2 separate regions of the Homo sapiens genome follow, and region 1 is linked to region 2. Evidence: promoter capture Hi-C in human tissues and cell types (Jung and others, 2019). All regions are on one chromosome and are shown on one strand. The core of a region is centred on a gene start or on the middle of the fragment in contact, and the rest is flanking DNA. Distances in the headings are between cores, read along the strand shown.

The links. Contacts are between HindIII fragments. The study calls those that stand out against the background at their distance.
Region 1: a fragment that was not itself captured here is called in contact with the fragment with the promoter of PPP1R14D in region 2 in 2 of the 25 tissues and cell types used here (IMR-90 fibroblasts and aorta).

What each region holds. Positions count from the first base shown.
Region 1 is chr15:40,775,069-40,778,510 of GRCh38, reverse strand. DNAJC17 (DnaJ heat shock protein family (Hsp40) member C17) reads left to right here. Exons shown (of 11, transcript NM_018163.3): 5 at 1,884-1,969; 6 at 2,219-2,315; 7 at 2,915-2,958; 8 at 3,403-3,442. Among named protein-coding and RNA genes, the nearest start is that of C15orf62, 6.8 kb to the right of the region's middle. The HindIII fragment of the contact is 3,866 bases long and covers 1-3,188 here.
Region 2 is chr15:40,827,311-40,830,394 of GRCh38, reverse strand. It overlaps PPP1R14D (protein phosphatase 1 regulatory inhibitor subunit 14D), which reads left to right and starts at 1,687. Exons shown (of 4, transcript NM_017726.8): 1 at 1,687-2,008. The coding sequence starts at 1,754. The HindIII fragment of the contact is 14,686 bases long and covers 1-3,084 here.

The DNA.
Region 1 (3,442 bases), core at 6-2,505, 51 kb after region 2:
GGGAGGCCGAGGCGGGTGGATCACGACGTCAGGAGTTCGAGACCAGCCTGGCCAAGATGGTGAAACCCCTTCTCTACTAAAAATACAAAAATTAGCTGGGTGTGGTGGCGGGTGCCTGTAATCCCAACTACTCGAGAAGTTGAGGCAGAGAATTGCTTGAACCCGGGAGGCAGAGGTTGCAGTGAGCTGAGATCACGCTGCTGTGCTCTAGCCTGGGTGACAGAGCAAAACTCCATCTCAAAAAACAAAACAAAACAAAAAAATTGGTGCTTGTATTCACCATTTCTGGCTGAGTCTTCTTCTTCTTTTTTTTTTTTTTAAAGAAAGACGGGGTTTTGTACTGTCACCCAGGCTAGGGTGGCACCATCATGGCTCACTGCAGCCTCAAACTCCTGGGCTCAAGCAGTCCTTCTGCCTTGGCCTCCTGAGTAGCTGGGACTACAGGTGCGAGCCGCTGTGCCCGGCTGGGTCTTTTAATTTGTTCTAACCCCAATTCCTACCCAGACTTTTCACTTTGAGAAGCTCCCTCAGAAGGATTCAAAGAGGTCCAGGCTTTCTCTTCTCTAATAGCTTTATTGAGGTATTCTTTGTATATCACAACATCAACCCATTTCAAGTGTACACTTCAATGATTTTTCGTAAATTTACTAAATGATGCAACTCTGACTATAAATCAGATTTGGAACATTTTCATCAACCCAATAAGATTGCTGCAAGCATTTTTTTTTTCTCACTTAAAAAAAAGTCACTGGTTATAGCAGCATGGTCCAAGCACTCTTTTTTTTTTTTTCTTAAACGGAGTTTCGCTCTTGTTGCCCAGGCTGGAGTGCAGTGGCACGATCTCGGCTCACTTCAACCTCTGCCTCCTGGGTTCAAGCGATTCTCCTGCCTCAGCCTCCCGAGTAGCTGGGACTAAGTTGCGCACCACCACACCCGGCTAATTTTTGTATTTTTAGTAGAGACGGAGTTTTGCCACATTGGCCAGGCTGGTCTCGAACTCCTGACCTCAGGTGATCCACCCCTCTTGGCCTCCCAAAGTGCTGGGATTACAGGCGTGAGCCACCGCGCCTGGCCCAGTCCAAGCATTCTTTACTCAAGTTTCTCCTTTTCCTCTTGCTCTTCAACATCCATATATTTTAATATGTGCATATAGCATCCCAATATCTATTTCTATATTAAAAGAAAAGCAAGTGCCAGGAGACCCCATCTCAAAAAAAAAAAAAAAAAAAGAGAGAGAGAGAAAAGGAGAGTCTAAGTAAGTAAAGTGCACAAACTTCTCTGGACTAAGAGAAGGGTTTCTCACAGCAGCTGGCCTGGCACATGGTTGCAAGCAGGTTTCTCTTGGAAGGTAACGCCCTCACACAATCCAGGACCCGGGGTGATGCCCTAACACTCTGCCCATCCCTGTAGCCAGGTCCACAGTGAGGCTTGGTAAATGTGAGTTGAGGTGGGAGGTAAAGGAGACAGTGAGAACCTGAGCTCAGTGTGTGAAAAGAATCAAAGCCAAAGCAAGTCAAGCTGTGGTGCCAAACCACAGGAATCGAGCCCAGCAGCTCCGCCCATTGGCACCCCTGACACATGGCCCTGGGCTGCTGACATAAGCACCACCCACACCCTGTTCACTAGAGAGAACCAGCTTGGTCAGTGTGAGCTGTTTTTAACTCTTCCAGACCCCTGGCCACTCTGCTAGACCCCATACTTCTGTGCTGTGATTTTTCTCAATGGAAATTGACTCGGGGGCGTGGGCATGGAGGGAGGGGGCAGAGTTACTGTATGATCTCGTCGTGATTGAGACTTTGGGGAGGCAGCCAGAGCTGGGGTGGGCCGAGGCCACATGGAAACTGAACAGACCAGCAGTCTGGTCATTCAACCCTTGTGTCTAGACCTGGAGGCCCGGGAGCGGCAGGCCCAGGCCCAGGAGAGTGAGGAGGAAGAGGAGAGCCGGAGCACCAGGACACTAGAGCAAGAGGTGAGCACTCAGGCACACTGGCCAGAAGGCCACCTGCAGGAGGAGGAGGTGGGGGAGGATGGACCTGGTGGTCGCCGTGGCTAGAGAGGGCATGCTCTTTGCACCTTCAGTGGGAGCTGGGTGATTTGTCCCACCCACAGGTTGCTGAGCCCTAGCTTGCAGGTGGAAGCTCCCAAGGACTTTTTACAAGGTGAGCCAGCCTGGAATTGGACCTGCACAGAATTGTCACCCCCACCCCCTGCTCTGCAGATCGAACGCCTGAGAGAAGAGGGTTCCCGGCAGCTGGAGGAACAGCAGAGGCTCATCCGGGAGCAGATACGCCAGGAGCGTGACCAGAGGTTGAGAGGTGCAGGTCTATCACCCCGCCTATCTCCCCTCCAAGGTAGCTCCAGATTGCTCAGAGCGGCCACACTGGCTGTTCGGTGGAGCTGCTGTGGAGGCTTCTACCTGCTGGAACCCTGGGGTCACCCTATGGTACCTTACTCTGACACATGCCACTTATCCCGTCTTCCTCCCAGTTCTCTGGGGCCTATTTGCTTTTTACTCTGCCTGAGATCTCCTGGCCACATTTGGCTTTGTCCCAAGCAGAGGTGGCCTTGTTTTGGGACAGATCACCACGGGGAGGGGCCCTGGGACACTTTGTGCCCGTAGAACCTCATGGTCTGTCTCTCTGCCTCCTGTCCCTAGAAAGTGTTCCTAGCTCTCCATTCAGAGAGTGCTGACAAGTGGCCTTCAGGAGGCAGCTGGGTAGACCACCCCTGGGGTGGCAGCTTCTCTGGGGATGGGCATCTGCTTTCCCCACCAGGCCCTCACCAGAGCTGGGCAGGCATTGCCCTTGGTCAGGAGTGACCCTTTCCAGACCCTTCTTGCTCTGGGCTGCATTTCCTTTGGGAGAATCTCTGACTCCCTCATATTCTACTTTTCTTCTTTTCCCAATATTTCTAGGAAAGGCAGAAAATACTGAAGGCCAAGGAACCCCCAAACTAAAGGTGAGCCTGGGCAGGATCTGTGGGCCACCTCACACTCACACCGCCTCCCCTCAGCAGGAATAGATGCTTCCTGTGGCTCGAGGGTTTCTGGTGGGGCTGCTGGATCTGCGTGGAGCCCGCACCATTACCACCTCCCTCCATGCTCCAGCCGCCCGGAGATCAGAGCTTGCCACGAAAGGCTGCTTTTAGCCCTGATCACAGGGCAGAGGATTCTCTAGAAGCCCTCTCAGGAGAGGGTCTTCTGGGCGGGAAGCGTCCCTGGGGTGAGCAGGCCATCCTGCCTTCAAGTTCCCAAGGGGAAAATGTTTCTGGTGGCACTCCCCAGATTGCAGGAGCCTTGGAGGCTTGGAGGGTGGGAGGATGTCTGCTCAGACTGTCAAGCTCAGTCGTGGGGTGAGGTACTGTTCAGCCAAGAATCAGTGTTTCATGAGGCTCTCTTTTCAGCTAAAATGGAAGTGCAAGAAGGAGGATGAGTCAAAAGGTG
Region 2 (3,084 bases), core at 438-2,937:
ATCTCGGCTCACTGCAACCTCCGCCTCCTGGGCCCAGGCGATTCTCCTCCCTCAGCCTCCTGAATAGTTGGGGCTACAGACGTGTGCCACCACGCCCGGCTAATTTTTGTATTTTTAGTAGAGACAGGGTTTTGCCATGTTGGCCAGGCTGATCTCAAACTCCTGACCTCAAGTCATCTGTCCACCTCAGCCTCCCAAAGTGCTGGGATTACAGGCATGAGCCACCGTGCCTGGCCCATTGTTTACATTTTTTAATGGAGACAAGATCTCACTGTGTTGCCCGGACTGGTCTTGAACTACTGGCCTCAAGCAATCTTCCCGCCTGGGTCTCCCAAAGCAGCTAATTTTTTGTATTATTATTATTTTTTTTTTTGGTAGAGAGAGAATTTCACCATTTTGCCCAGGCTGGTCTTGAACTCCTGAGCTCAAGCAATCCACGCGCCTCGGCCTCCCAGAGTGCTGGGATTACAGGCGTGAGCCACCATGCCTGGCCCCATTTTAAAAAAATTACAGGCTGGGCACGGTGGCTCACTCCAGTAATCCCACCACTTTGGGAGGCCGAGGCGGGTGGATCATGAGGTCAGGCATTTGAGACCAGCCTGGGCAACATAGTGAAACCTCGTCTCTACTAAAAATACAAAAAATTATCCGGGCATGGTGGTGGGCGCCTGTAATCCCAGCTTCTTGGGAGGCTGAGGCAGGAGAATTGCTTGAACTTGGGAGGCGGATGTTGCAGTGAGCCAAGATCGCAGCATTGCCCCCCAGCCTGGGTGACAGTGCGAGACTCCATCTCAAAAAAAAAAAAAAAAAAATTACAGTGTTCTTCTGTCACTTTTTTTTTTTAAAGTTTAGAAATTTTCATTATAAAAGACTAAACAAAAATACCCTGCCTTAGAATGCAAGTATGTATGCCTGGAAGTATTAGTCCCTGACACCTGTGTATAAGTTAGGTTTGCAGGTTTCCTCTGTGTCAGCAAATACATGAATCGGGGGAGGGTCACGTGGTAATAAACATGGCTTCCTAAGCAGTTGCCTCAGGGGAGCGGGCATAGTAGACAAGTCTTGATAAATTTGCCTTTACAAGCAGGTAAACTGCCTTTATAGGCCAGGCTGATAGCAGTTTACATTCGGACACACCCAGACACTGGGGGCACTGGTCCTACGGGAGCCATCAATAACTGACCTCCAACTCTATCTACCAGCTGGGGCTCTGCCCCCAGTAGTGCTACGCTCTGAGTAAGAATCCCTGCCAGCCAGGGACCCTGCTTCTGCGGAATCTGACCACAGCTTCTCAGAGCCCAGAGTGGATCCAGCCCCAGGAAGGTGGGATACAGAGGGATCTCAGGTGAGAACGACTCAGGTCCCATTCCAGAGCTGGCCATAGAGCAGCGATTGGAGCCCTGTACCCTTCAGGACCCCAGGGCCCCTTCCTCCTCCCTGGGCATGGCAGCCTCTTGACCTTTGCTCATCTGCAGTTTATGCCACTTTGGGCCCTAGAAGCTGCAGAAAGGGAGGCTGGGGCATGGCTCTGGAGTGCCACTCACTGGCTGGCAGTGAGGAGCCAGGAGACTGGCATTCCCAGCACCAAAGTCCTATTGATCTTTGCCCTTGCCCCTCCCTGGGAGCCTTGGCCCTCCTCCTGCCTTCATTTCTTCTCTGCTGGCCTCTCCTGTTCTCTGTCTCCTCACTTCCCTCTGTGGCTCTGCTCAGAACTGGCGGTTTTTCCCAGCTCCTTGCCCAGACCAATACTTCCATGCTGTCTTCAAGCCCTGCTTCCTGCACATCTCCCAGCCCAGATGGGGAGAACCCATGTAAGAAGGTCCACTGGGCTTCTGGGAGGAGAAGGACATCATCCACAGACTCAGAGTCCAAGTCCCACCCGGACTCCTCCAAGATACCCAGGTCCCGGAGACCCAGCCGCCTGACAGTGAAGTATGACCGGGGCCAGCTCCAGCGCTGGCTGGAGATGGAGCAATGGGTGGATGCTCAAGTTCAGGAGCTCTTCCAGGTAGGTAGCACAGCGGATAGTGGGAGGAGATGGGGGCCTGGGGTCCACCCAGGGCACTGAGACCTTCACAGGAGCTGGAGGGCTGATGTGAGGTGCTTCCGTGAAGAGAAAGCTTTTGTAACTGATGAAAGAAAGAAGCATCGGTTTGAAGTCCAGAAGTCTGCCTCCCTCTAGGCTTGTCTGTGCCTCTAATGCTCTTTGTGATCTGGGGAAGGTCTTTTAACATCCCTAATCTATAATAGGGCTGTTAGTGCCTGTCATATCTCCTTTATAGGACTTTCTGAGGCTCAAATGAGACAATAGAAGGGAAAATGCTTGGTCACACTATGTTTCAAAATTTTATATCTTTATTTACTCCCATGTTCAATGCACATACATGTCCGGAGCTACATTTTCGTTTCTTTTCTTTTTCTTTGTTTCTTTCTTTCTTTCTTTCTTTTGTTTTTTGTTTGTTTGTTTGTTTTTGAGACAAAGTCTTGCCCTGTTGCACAGGCTGGAATGCAGTAGTGCAATCTCAGCTCACTGCTCTGCCTGCTGGGTTCAAGCCATCCTCCCACTTCAGCCTCCTGAGTAGCTGGGACTACAGGTGCGCACCACCACGCCTGGCAAATTTTTTTGTATTTTTTTTTGTAGAGACGGCTTTTCACCATGTTGCCCAGGCTGGTCTTGAACTCCTTGGCTCAAACAGTCTGCCTGCCTCGGCCTCTCAAAGTGCTGGGATTACAGGTGTGCACCACCATGCCCAGCCTAGAGCTACATTTTCCAATTCTGTAGCCATCAGCCATGTGTAGCTGTTTGACTTTAAATGAGTTATAATTAAATAAAATTATTCAGTTCCCCAGTCACATGGGCCACATTTCTTTTTTCTTTTGCCTTTTTTTGAGACAGTCTTACTCTGTAAACCAGCCTGGAGTGCAATGCCGTGATTTTGGCTCACTGCAACCTCCGCCTCCCAAGTTCAAGCGATTCTCCTGCCTCAGCCTCCCGAGTAGCTGGGATTACAGGCATGCGCCACTGTGCCCGACTAATTTTGTATTTTTAGTAGAGACGGGGTTTCTCCATGTTGGTCAGGCTGG